Regions from separate parts of the Homo sapiens genome. Here region 2 is linked to region 1. The links are contacts of gene promoters, found by promoter capture Hi-C in blood cells and fetal thymus (Javierre and others, 2016). All regions are on one chromosome and are shown on one strand. The core of a region is centred on a gene start or on the middle of the fragment in contact, and the rest is flanking DNA. Distances in the headings are between cores, read along the strand shown. Region 1 holds the start of SPON1 (spondin 1). Region 2 holds the start of PTH (parathyroid hormone).

Region 1 (6,198 bases), core at 2,088-4,587:
TAATAGTGACCATTTTATTCCGGTCTAGAGTACCTAAAGACTGTACTTAGACAGCAGGCACAAAGAACAGAAGCTGCTTGGGGATGAACTGGAATACTGTGGACAAAGATTTGAGGCAGGAAAACAAGTCATTGATTCCAAGGATTGTGAGGAATCCTAATTCATGAAAAAATTAAAAAGCAAATAGAACACCAGGGGAATGCCAGCTTCACAGCCTTAAGTCAGGACAATGAGCAGAATGTGTTTGAGTTACTTTTAACATAATTATTCTAAGAAAGAAGGAGCCAACAGAAAATGTCACAAACTAGGCCAGTACCTTTTCTTTCGGACTTTGAGTGGCAGAATCAGGTTTGCTAATTGCAGGATATTTACTTGGAAAACCTCAGCATGGTTCCTGCAAGATCTCTTCCAAGGTCTTTTAGCCATAAGAAGGGAGAAAAGATGATTGCCCAATCTATAGCCTGAGTTGGGGTGTCAAAGTCCAGATGGCTGTTTAGGCAGGAGTAGCCTGTAGGGTGAAAGTCCAGGACACTCCCTATCCAGTCCCAGTTCCCCACCTGCTGGCCCTGGACGTTTAGGTAGTTCTGAAACCTCTTTGGCCCCGTGAATACCAGCTGTATCTCCTTCCCAGTGCTAGGGCCACCAGCTGCCAATGCTCAACTAAAACACGGAGGATTAGTGTGAAAAGAGACGCTGGGTACACTTGGCCTGAACCTCAGACTAGTCTAAGTCACTGAAAAAATCTTCCTGGGCTTGCATTAGCAACAGTCTTAGGCAAGGCTCCTGATATGAAAAAATACCTCATTCATTCATTCAATTAATTCATGAGGACCCAAATAACCACTGGTAGATGAATGGGACTGGAGGAGAGCTGAGGAAACCTGCTTTCAAACGCACAACACTCTTCAAAAACAAAAATCTGATCAAGAACCTACCTCCATTAGTAAACCAATAAAGGCCTCACATTCAACTGTTAGGCTTATTAGGAATCTCTTTTAGCTCAGGCACACTCACCTTTGTAAACTCATTTACTCCCTACCACCAAGAGAGGGTGGATAAACAGCTTTTTTTTTTTTCCAGCTAGGAAATAGGTGCAGAGAAATTAAATGACTTGCACAAGGTCACACAGCGAGTAAACCCAAGTCTGTTGGACTCCAGAGCCACTTCTTTCTCTGCTACGTGGAGCGGGGACAGTTTCCCCTGTGAACTCAGGTCCTCAGTTTTGGGGAGGGCCGAATAGGCCACTGAAGTCATACCCGCTTCCCTGCGGTCCACAGGGAGGATCGGCCGCCTCCCGGCTGCACCGAGTGGCAGTCGCCGCCCGTCGGCGCGGCTCGCTCTAGCCGCGGTGCCAAGCCGCGCGCTCCCTCCCGGGCTGGGCGGGGTGTTCTCCGCCCAGAATCTTTCTTCGTGGAGTACCCAGGATCCCGCGGAGCTGCGCGCCGGGGTCAGACTGTTCCTCGCAAAGTGCTCAGCACGCCAAGGTGCCAAGGGCACCAAGGAGCCGGCTTTGGGTAGCTCCGGGTGGAGAAAGTCGGGGACACAAACCCGGGAAAGGGGGAAAAGCGCTCCAAGAAGGGTGGCCCCTGGCTTTGGTCTCCGGCGTGACCCTGGCGCCCGCTGACGCTGCCCCAGACTTTCTCCTGTGTTGCTCCCACCGCTTCCGTCCAAGGCTCTCTGGGGAACTGGGAAGGCGAGGAGGAAAGTACAGCAGCTGGGAGCCCATTTGCCCCACCAGGTGCCCCAGTGACCCGCTCATCCCTGCTTAGCACCAGAGCTGACTTATGAAGGGGCGAGGGTGAGAGGACACGCTCCCTGGCGGGAGCTAAGGTGAGGCCAGACAGGCTCGCTTCCCTTCCTGGTTACCTGTCCCCCACCCGGAGAGCGGCTGCTGCTGCACGGGGAAACGATGTCTGGGGAGATGACCCTGCTGAGGAGCGAGGTGGCGGGCGTGGGGACAGAGTCAGGCGTCTTCAGATCGGTGCTGGTCGAACTGCCTGTCCCGCCTAGGAGGCTCTCACCTGCTTGGACACCTCCTCCCTGAGCTCCCGAAACCCCACTCTCAGCCGAGCGGCGTAGGCGCGACATCCCTGGGACGTGGAGACTCCGAGCTGCCGGAGCCAAGGTTCCCCGGCCTCCAGGGAGCAGGCCTCGGGCATCGGGGCTTCTCTTTCCATCTTCATCCAATTCCCCTTGCAGCTCGGAGCTTACCCCAAGCTCTTTGAGGACCCTGTCCCCACTGGGAACCTGTTCTGGAAACCCAAGATACTCTATCTCGTCTGGGACCACGAGAGAATAATTTGGGGTTCTTTCCAAGGACCCTTTCGAGGAGCTTTAGGCTGTCCCTGCCCCTCCTTCCCGCACCCCGGGACCGGTTAGGGAGAAGCCAAAGTCCCTTCTCCTGAAGGGACCTATCCAGGGAAGCCGGAGTGGCTGTCCCGCCCAGGGCCAGTCTTTGAGAATCGGGTACCCTCTCCTTCAGGGACTGAGCGGGGAAAGCTGGAGTGGCTGCCTTGCCCGGGACCCGACCAAGAGAAGCCTGGGTCCCCTCCAGACCGATTTGGAGAAAGGCAGTTTTACTTCCCTCCTGCAGACGGCCGGGGGAGAAGCGAGCCTCCCTTGCAGTCAGGCCGGCGTGACGTGTGGCTCAGTTACATCCTCCGCCTGGGAACCGCGCGTCGGAAACGCGGGGTGCCTCTCCTGGCTGCGGCCCCCGCGACGGCCCGGGACGCTGGATTATGATCCGCGCCGAGCTCGCGACTGCAAGGGCCGAGGGCAGCCAGGACAGAAGGGCCCTTGCCGGGCTGCACCCGCGCCACGCGCCCGGAGACCGCGCGCCCTCCTCCGGCACCGCGAGGTCGGCGCCCTCCGGGGACCGGGTCCCGCTCTCCTAATGCCACGCCGGGCGGCCACTTACCGCGGTAGCTGGTTCCCGGCTTGTAGAAGTCGGGGTCGCCCTCCACGCGGAGGCTGAACTCGGTGTAGCCCTCGCGCCGCGTGCCCTGGGCGCGCAGGATACGGCTGCAGTAGCCCTCTGACTTGGGCACTTTGTCCAGGGTCTCGTCGGAGAAGGCCAGCGCCGCGGCCAGGGGCAGCGCCAGGGCCAGCAGTGCCGGAGTCCGGCTCAGCTTCAGGGGCGCCGGGGACAGCCTCATCTTCGCGGCCCCCAACTTTGTGCCGCGGCCGCAGGCCTTCGCCACGCGACTCCTGCCCGAAGTGGTCCCGACGAAGGCGCGACCTGGCGGAGGCGCGGCGGAGAGAGGGAGCTCGGAGCTGGCGTCCGCGACTCGGAGACCGTGCCCGCCTCGGCTTGGCGGCCGCGGAGCTGCGCTGAGCTGAGCTGAGCTGAGCCAAGCGAACGAGAGCAGCGCGAGGAGGGGAGGGCCGCGGCGAAGGAGCGGGAGGAGGGAGGGCTGATTTTGCCCAGATCCCCCAGCGCAGCGCTGTTTTGTTTCCTCCGAACTGGCGATTAGCGGCGCGGCCGTGTTTATTTTGCGACGTTGGATTCCCAGGGTCTGACGAAGAAACCGTGGCATACCGGACCCTGTGGGCTCTGTCCCATCGCCTAGGAGGCTGCTGCTCCAACCCCCAGCTACACTCCGGACCCTCTGGAGGACGGCGCTCAGAGGAGGGAAAGCCTGAGAAATAACTTTTGTTGCACACCTGCTCTGTGCCTAGCAATATGCTTGGCGGCTTACTTACTGTATCGACTCGCCTTCATGTTCCCTACTCCCAATAAAGATTACATTACTTTCGCTCACTTTATAGATGAGCAAACTGTGACTTGCGACCAGTTACAGCAGGGTTAGATGCGGCGACTCCGGGCCCATTGCTCTTCCCAAGGCCATAGTGGAACATGTCAGACTGGAGGCTGAGAAAGGAGAAACGACTTAGCTACAGCGCTTAGGGCCCACGATACTTTTGGAGATCTATGAAAATGTTTTCTGTAAAAATCAGAAGAAAAAATTTATGTCAAACAAAATGTTTTACTATATAATGTTAATATATTTGTATTTATACCTCCACAGTCATAAAATATGCTTGACTTGGAGGAAAGAGCCAGCAAAGGCAAAAGTGCCTAAGGCTCAGGAAGGTCCTCCTACAGCCCAGGAAAGGAGTTTCCAAAGATTCAATGAAGAGCCTGTGTTTTCTTGGCTTACATTTTAGTTCAGATTCTCACTCCCCAGGGACAGATGTTCAGAGAGGTGCTGAGCCTGAGGGCCTGAAGGGAAAAGACCTGGGGCAAGAATCTCTCCCAGTGTCTCTCTGGGAAGAGACCCGAATCAAACCTCAGTCCTGCCACTCACCCATTGTGAAGCTTGGGCTAGTTATCGCACTCTCCAAGCTTGTTTCCTGCTCTGGAGAACAAGGAAGTGGGGGTGGGTGCCAGTACATCCTTCTTAGAGGTAGTGGGGTGATATGCTAGAAGTAAATGATATGACCCATATAAAACACTCTAGTTGGTCTCTAGTGGCGCCTGCTCCCTCACCCGCTTGGGGATACCATAAGCCCCCTGCCTCTCAGTGCACACAAACATCCCTCCCCAGGTGCCCTCAGAAGCTTTGGTTTCCTCGTCTTCTCTTTGCCCAGGGCCTTCGACACACCTCAAGTGCCTACAATTAGCAAGCAATCTCCTTTGCTTTCCAGGTCAGGGTTTTCTCTTTCATAATGCTACAAACAGGCCCAGGGCGCTAGGTGCATGGGAGATCTCCATTCCTCCCTGCCTGCCCACTTACTCCTTAGTGCTTGTGCTGGAATTCCCACTGCCACTATTAACTGGACGCCTTCTCTCAGAGGTCACCTGAAAGTAACCCCTTGCTGAAGCCAATTATGCTCTTCTCTCATCCCTAGCCCTTCTTGACCCTAGCAGCACCTGATCCAGCTGATCGGCCCTCCTTTTTGAGGTGAGGCTCAGATCCATGTCTGAGTGCTGAGGGAATTGTCTGCATCTTCACTCGACTGGCTCAGAGCTCATGCTGCACTCCAAGTTGCACGGTCCCATTCATCCAGCAAACTTTCATTAAGTGTAGATTTGGAGCTAGACTCTGTGCTGACCGGTAGGTAGAAGACGGAACAAAAATTCATCCATCCATCCATCCATGCATCCTTCTATCCATCCATTCATTCATGACAAAGACCCTCCACGTGCTCAGTGCTTGGATACAAAACACAGATATGTTACTTGCCTTTGAGGATTTTACAGGCCTGTGGCAAAGGCAAATATTAAATACATAATTATATGAATCTTTTAAAATTATAATTGTGATGTATGCTACAAACTAAAATAAGTGGTTCTTGAAAGTGTACCTGATCTTATCTCAGAGGGCAGGAAACTACAGAAATGAATAAATTGTGACCCCTGTCTTCACAAAGCTTATTTTATGTCTGAAAGCTCAAATCTGTGCTCTTGAACCTCTATTCATCTACAAAAGGTTCAAATCTAAGTTGGAGATGGGTGGGCATGAAGTAGGCAGGAATGCAATATTTAACTTTTTATTGGATATTGACAGGAAAACTATGGGAAGTAGGCAGTCCCAATTCACCTCCGCACTCCCATTGTTCAGATTAGGAGCCTATGAAATTACCTGCTGAGGTAATGTTCCATGGCTATTAAGGGAAAGAGCCAGGATTTAAAACAGGCATCCCCAACACCAAATGAGGTACTTTCCAGTACACAGTGTTCGCCCTATCATCTGGGCTATGACGGCAGGCTCTAACCAGCTCACCAAGCTCCAATCCCACTACATGAGCTAGGTTTTCCTAAACCAGCTTGGCTGTCACTCAGACCTCTGCTGTCTTCTCCACTCATCCGATCCATCACCACATCAAGTTTCACGCTCTTCTCCACCACTACCCCTGTCTGTGTTGACATCCTCTCTCATCTTCCTAACTGGGTTGCCCTTGTCTACTTGTGCTCTCCTTCCATCTGTCTTCTGCACTGAAGCCCAAGTGATCTTTTTAAAAATGCAGATTTGAATGTCAATCCTGAGGTTAACATTTTTTCTTGGTGGTTTTTCAGGGCTCTCAGAATAAAGACAGAATCTTCAGCCAGGCCTCCAAGGCTCTGCTTGATCTGCTTCTCCAGCCATGCAGCTCTTCTCTCATGGGCTTTGCCTGTGCTGTTCTCTCTGCCTGGAATCCTATCATGCTCTTTGGTCTCTCCTAGCCACCACTCTCCATTGGCCAACTCCTATGTAC
Region 2 (6,454 bases), core at 2,920-5,419, 470 kb after region 1:
CCAGGCTGGAGTACAGTGGCATGATCAGAGTTCACTGCAGCCTCCATCTTCCAGGTTTGGGTGATCCTCCCATCTCAGCCTCCTGAGTATCTGAGACTACAGGTGTGCACCACCACATCCTGCTGATTTTTTTTTTAACTTTTAGGAGAGATGAGGTCTTGCTATGTTGCCCAGGCTGGTCTCAAACTCCTAAACTCAAGCAATCCCCTTGCCTTGGCCTCCCAAAGTGCTGAGATTACAAGTGTGAGCCACTGCGTCTATTCAGTCTTCATTGCCTGCATGCCTGTGCGCATGCAGTTCCCTCTGTCCTTTCTTACCTTCTCTGATGGAAAACACAATCACCTGTCAGGACAGTTCAGCTTTTCAGTAAAACAGCTTCCAACAACTTTAGGGAAATTGTCACTTCCTCTTCTGTGCTTTTATAAGTCTTTGTTCATACCCCTATTATAATACCTATCACATTATATTATAATTATGTGTTAAATTTCAAGGCATTGATTATGTCTCAATTATCCAGTGATTAATACAGCCCCTGGCAGATAGTATTCAACGCATTTTTTTGAGTGAACAAATGAGTGACCACTGTCTGAACTATTTGCTTTATTTTTCTGTAAAACTAGTTTAATAATGTGGTTGCCTTGGTATGACAATTTATTCTATAAATAAGTGTAAGAGAAAGAAGAACAAGAAAGTGATAATTGCATCACTCCTAGAAGGCTGTCAATTACATTAAACTTACCCAAAGCGGGAAAAATCTCCAAATCAGAATATTAAGCATGGCTTTATAATAACAATGCAAAAAATGTGTTTATAAAACCATTTGTGTATGCAGAAGATTGAAACTGGACCTGTTCCTTACACTATATACAAAAATTAACTCAAGATGGATTAAAGATCCGAAACTATAAAAACCCTGGAAGACAACATTGGCAATACTGTTATAGACATAGGAATGAGCAAAGATTTCATGAAGAAGATGCCAAAAGCAATGGCAATGAAAGCAAAAATTAACAAATGAGATATAATTAAACTAAAGAGCTTCTGCACAGCAAAAGAAACTATCAACAGAGTAAAGAGACAACCTACAGAATGGGAGAAAATTTTTGCAAACTATGCATCTGACAAAGGCCTAATATCCAACATCTATAAATTAAACAAATTTACAAGAAACAAACAACCCCATTAAAAAGTGGGTAAAGGACATGAACAGACATTTTTCAAAATAAGACATACATGTGGCCAACAAGCGTATGGAAAAAAGCTCAACATCACTGATCATCAGAGAAATGCAAATCAAAACCATAACGAGCCACCATCTCACACCAGTCAGAATGGCTGTTATCAAAAAGCCAAAAAATAACAGGTATGGGTGAGGTTGTGGAGAAAAAGGAACATTTATACACTGTTAGTGGGAGTGTAAATTAGTTCAACAATTGTGGAAAACAGTGTGGCGATCCCTCAAAGACTAAAAGCAAAACTACAATTTGATCCAGCAATCCCATTACTGGGTATATACTCAAAGGAATATAAATCATTCTATAATAAAGACATATGCATGCGTATGTTCATTATAGCACTATTCACAATAGCAAAGACATGCAATCAACCTAAATGCCCAACAGTGGTAGACTGGATAAAGAATACGTGGTGCCTACATACCATGGAATACTAGGCAGCCATAAAAAAGAACAAGATGGAGCTAGAGGCCACTATCCTTAGCAAACTAACATAGGAACAGAAAACCAAATATCTCATGGTCTCACTTATAATTGGGAGCTAAAAGATGAGAACACATGGACACAAAGAAGGGAACCACACACACTGGGGCTTACTGAAGGATGGAGAGTGGAAGGAGGCGGAGGATCAGGAAAAATAACTAATGGGCACTAGGCTTAATACCTGGGTCATGATATAATTAGTACAATAAACCTCCACGACATGAGTTTACCTATATAACAGGCCTGTACATGTACCCCTGAACTTAAAAGTTAAAAAATAAAAATCCATTAGTGGCTGGGTGTGGTGGCTCATGCCTGTAATCCCAGCACTTTGGGAGCGAGAGGTGGGAGGACTGCTTGAGCCAAGGACAGCCTGGGCAATTTAGCTACACTCTGCCTCCACAAAAATTTAAAAATTAGCTGGTTGTGGTGCTGTGTGCCTATAGCCCCCACTACTCAGAAGGCTGAGGTGGAAGGACTGCTTGAGCCCCGAAAGTTGAGGCTGCCATGTCCATACCACTGCACCACTCCAGTCTGAGTGACAGAGTGAGATCCTATCTCAAAGAAAAAAGAAAAACCATCTGTATTTCCAATTCTTCTTCTCAACAGAGTATAGCAGAAAAATGACACACAAACATCACATGTAGAGTTTGCATCAGAAGAGGTCTTTAAAAAGATCAAGACAACAGATTTTTACAGTTAAAAGAGACCTCTTGGTTATCTAGTTCAACTTTCTTCTATGTATGAATCTCTATAGTATGCCTGATAAATGCTCATCTACCTTCTACTTGAATATTCTCAGTGATGGAGAAATCACTATTTGAGAAGGTACTTGATTCCTTATTTTGACAATTATAATGTCCAAGTTAAACCCAATGAACCCAGCCCTTCCTTCTTAAACCACAGAGAATACTCCTTCTTCCTTATGGTAACCCTATAAATAATTAAACACAGCTATAAAGTCATCCCGTCTTTTTTTCCTCAGACTTTTCTAGTTTCATTCAACTACTTCTCATGTTATAGTTTTCAACATTTTCACCAAACTGATTGATATCCTCAGTGTATGTTCCCATTTGTTTCTACTGCTTCTAAAATGGAGCCTGGAGCAACACTCTAAGTGAGGTTAACCCAGAGTGGAGAATCTCCTAGGACAGGACTAGTATATATCTCTCATTATAAACTCCATACGGTTACTATTCAAATTTGTACTGGCTCTTACCTAAGGTAGAGTCAAACCTTGACAATGGCTAGTAGGAAAAAGGATGACATGAAGCCAGGATGGGACCAGAGCTGAGAGAACTGATCCCACTCTGGCACCGGATCTTTGGTGGGAAGGCAAAGCTGTCTAAAGGAGTCCTAGATATATCAAAGACATTCAGGGTGTTTTGACAGGTGGACCAGGAAAATATTGCTGGAGGAATATTTGAAGTCAGACATGTGGCAGCATCATGCCTCCAATAGGTTTTGGAGCAGGCTCTCATCATCCCTTAGGGAACATGAGAATAAAGACCTAACCCCTAGGGGAAAATGTTGCAAAGAGCTTTTGCTGTGTTTTCAGATGACTTTGCAAATTAAAGTCAAGAAGACTGGAGTTCAAAGAAGGGCTGTATTTCTAGGCAGAAACTGAGGTAGTAAGAATCTGGTGTCATAAAGACCTTTGTTGAATTCCATCTTTTCTGCTTTCCAAGCCTAAGTTTCCTCATGTAAAAATGGGGATAAGCACTTAACTTTAGTACTTTAAGTACTAACTTTAAAGGACTGCTGTGAAGATCTAGTGGGATAATATATGTAGTTAGGCATGCAGTTAGTGCTTATCAAATGTTATTATTATAGATTAAGATGCACAAATAAAATATAAGTTAAATAAATTTTAAAATAATTTCACTTTTGAAGCTTTTAAAGTAATTATGTACTAAGAGCATTTTCTCAAATTATTCTTAACACTTCCTTTAAGAAAAGGGCTATATCTGTTTTTTGAAAGATGACCAGAAGTGACATGGATTGGTTGAAAATGGCTTGTAAAGTAAGCCTAACATTTATGATTTATTACCATAAAAACTGTACCAACAGTACGGTTATAACAAATACACTTATTTTTGGGTTTTATTTTCAAGTAAGATAATGACTTTATCATAAACCTTTGAAATCAGTCTTTTTACAGTATAAATTCAGATTCATTAATCCACATAGAATTTTTCTCGATGGTATAATTCTGTATTTGTTAAAAGTCTTTGCATAAGCCCCTTGTCAAGCCAAATGCTGTTTTCCTTTTAGTATCCAATTATCTGAAACTTAAGAAGAGTGTGCACCGCCCAATGGGTGTGTGTATGTGCTGCTTTGAACCTATAGTTGAGATCCAGAGAATTGGGAGTGACATCATCTGTAACAATAAAAGAGCCTCTCTTGGTAAGCAGAAGACCTATATATAAAAGTCACCATTTAAGGGGTCTGCAGTCCAATTCATCAGTTGTCTTTAGTTTACTCAGCATCAGCTACTAACATACCTGAACGAAGATCTTGTTCTAAGACATTGTATGGTAAGTAAACTTAAAAATTCACTTCTGAATCTCATGAGATTTTGATAATCAAGTTATTATTTAATGTGTACCATTTCTACAAATACCATGTTGTTTCTTCAAGGTAAAATGCTAAGAAGTTTGAGTTATGTTTAATATAAAATGCCACATACAAAATAAATTAATGCTACTCAAATCACAAAATCCTTTTTGATTAAAGTCTTCTGAGATACCTTGCCTTTTAAAACCTCATCTGAAATTACAACAAAAAATCATTAAAATTTGGCATGCTATGCTTTAATATAATAGTATCGGTGTCAAAATTTTGAAATAAAACAGGTTGATGGTGAATGAATAGTTCTGATTTAAATAATCTTTATAAATTTATTAAGTGGAGTTAATATTCTGTTTTTCCTGCAGAGTATTCTTATCTAGATTATTTATTTTATGGCTCATAAAGAGCCCAATCTGTATACTAAAGTTGGATAAGCCCAGTTTGACTAGTAAATATTTATTTCCTTTACATAAATGACAGCTGTATTCTGAAAACAGTATTTCCTATGCTATTTCTAAATGATGCAGTTTCCCTGTAAAATAGGAGTACATAACTACTCTATGTGTATGTTAAAAGGTAGTACACTGAGCATTAAGGAAAAGCACTTCTATAATAACAGCCTTTGCAAGTACTGAAATGCAGATTAAGGCAAGAATATCCTATACTGATGTGAAACGAGGAAAGAGACAAAAGTTATATTAAAAGATAATTGTTAATAAAATAAGTTGAAGAAATAAGCTACAAACAAGCATTCCATTCAGAGATAAAGCTCGAAATCCATATCACAAGTAATTAATCAGATGATTTTTAAATGCTTTGACACATTATTTTTAATGCTAGGAGAAATGTGAATTAATTTAGTGAAAATCTCTAGATTAGCACCTATTAGTTTGGTATTTATGGTTATTACAATGCCTGAAATGAAGGTTACTTAAGAAAAGGATTTGCTACGTAAATAGTGTTAACAATTTACACTATGAAGAAAATTAGGCATTTTCAAGCAAGTTATAAACATTTAGGTATAATCAACATAAAATGCAGTGCGGGGGGATTTCTCAAAAATAGGCTCTTTCATTCCTCTTGTAGCTTAAGATTTCTGCAGTGTGACAGAAGGGAGCATGAGAAGCATGGCTCACCAGCCAGCCTCTATTGTCTATGTAATTAGAAGCTTCAGAACTCACTAATACCACTGTACCTTTCACTGGCGCATTACCCCATAAAACTTGAGATGAGGTGAGATCTGAGTATAAAGATAGGTCAGAAGTATTTTAAAGGGCTTAATTTGCCAAAAAGAAAAGTAAAAAGCTAGAGACCCTTTTTGCAGAACATTTGGTGACCACACATTTGAGGGAAGATGTGGCATTAGATGAAGCAGAAGCAAACCCTGCTCTTAGGGGCTCATCTAGGTGAGTGCACAGCCTGTGACACTACAGGGAGAGGCTCAGTAAACTGAGATCCAGCATTCTGTATGACAGAGGCATTGCTTATCACAGAGGTTCTGAATTTTAAGTAGGAAGTACATAATGAAGAGGGCTTTAAAAATTGCTAAGAAAGCGAGTCACCAGGGCTGGCAGTAGTGTAACAGGGCCATCCTGAGCTGTTAGGAGAGTAGATGCAGGGAGGGCTGGTGACCTCCGTGGGTTTATCTGTTGGAGACTCTTCTCTCCAAATCCCAGGCCTGGCTTCCAGCACCATCCAGCTGTGCCCAAGAAGCCACGCTGGTCTGTTCTCCAAGTCTTTTAAATGGTGCCTAATTTTTCTAAGTGAGCTTAGCAATGAGAAGAAAAAAAAAACATGAATTATTTTTCTGGAAAATCAAGGAGACATGGGTAACAACAGGCACTAATAAATATTTATAGATGAGTGAATGAGGAAATAATTACATAAAAAAGGTCAGTGACAATTGATAAATGACAAGGAAATATTTAATTAGGTAAAAGTAAACCATTGCTCTCTATACTAGGATAGACTTTATCTACTTCGTCTTTTCCTAAGTCAGCATGTTAATTCTGGGGGAGGATCATAAGAAAGGAAATACTTTTTTAAAAAAAATTTAAAAACATGTAACAAAGCAAGGGTAAAATATATGTATATACATAAGTGGTATGACTGTAAAACTGTACTTTCCATTAGTTATTAGCTGAGTTAAGAGAATGATCACGTTG

What was found. The method cuts DNA at HindIII sites, captures the fragments that hold promoters and counts their contacts. A CHiCAGO score of 5 or more calls a contact.
Region 2: a contact is called between the fragment with the promoter of PTH here and the fragment with the promoter of SPON1 in region 1, in 1 of 17 cell types (neutrophils). The highest score is 6.1, in neutrophils.

What each region holds. Positions count from the first base shown.
Region 1 is chr11:13,959,862-13,966,059 of GRCh38, reverse strand. SPON1 (spondin 1) reads right to left here and starts at 3,337. Exons shown (of 16, transcript NM_006108.4): 1 at 2,918-3,337. The coding sequence starts at 3,155. LOC124902637 (a long non-coding RNA gene) reads right to left here and starts at 2,903. Exons shown (of 2, transcript XR_007062602.1): 1 at 1,015-2,903. RefSeq lists an enhancer at 1-52. The HindIII fragment of the contact is 7,695 bases long and covers 1-4,320 here.
Region 2 is chr11:13,493,712-13,500,165 of GRCh38, reverse strand. It overlaps PTH (parathyroid hormone), which reads left to right and starts at 4,169. Exons shown (of 3, transcript NM_000315.4): 1 at 4,169-4,255. RefSeq lists silencers at 1-14, 748-848, 1-849, an enhancer at 3,774-3,795 and promoters at 4,010-4,172, 3,165-4,224, 3,486-4,236. The HindIII fragment of the contact is 1,846 bases long and covers 3,614-5,459 here.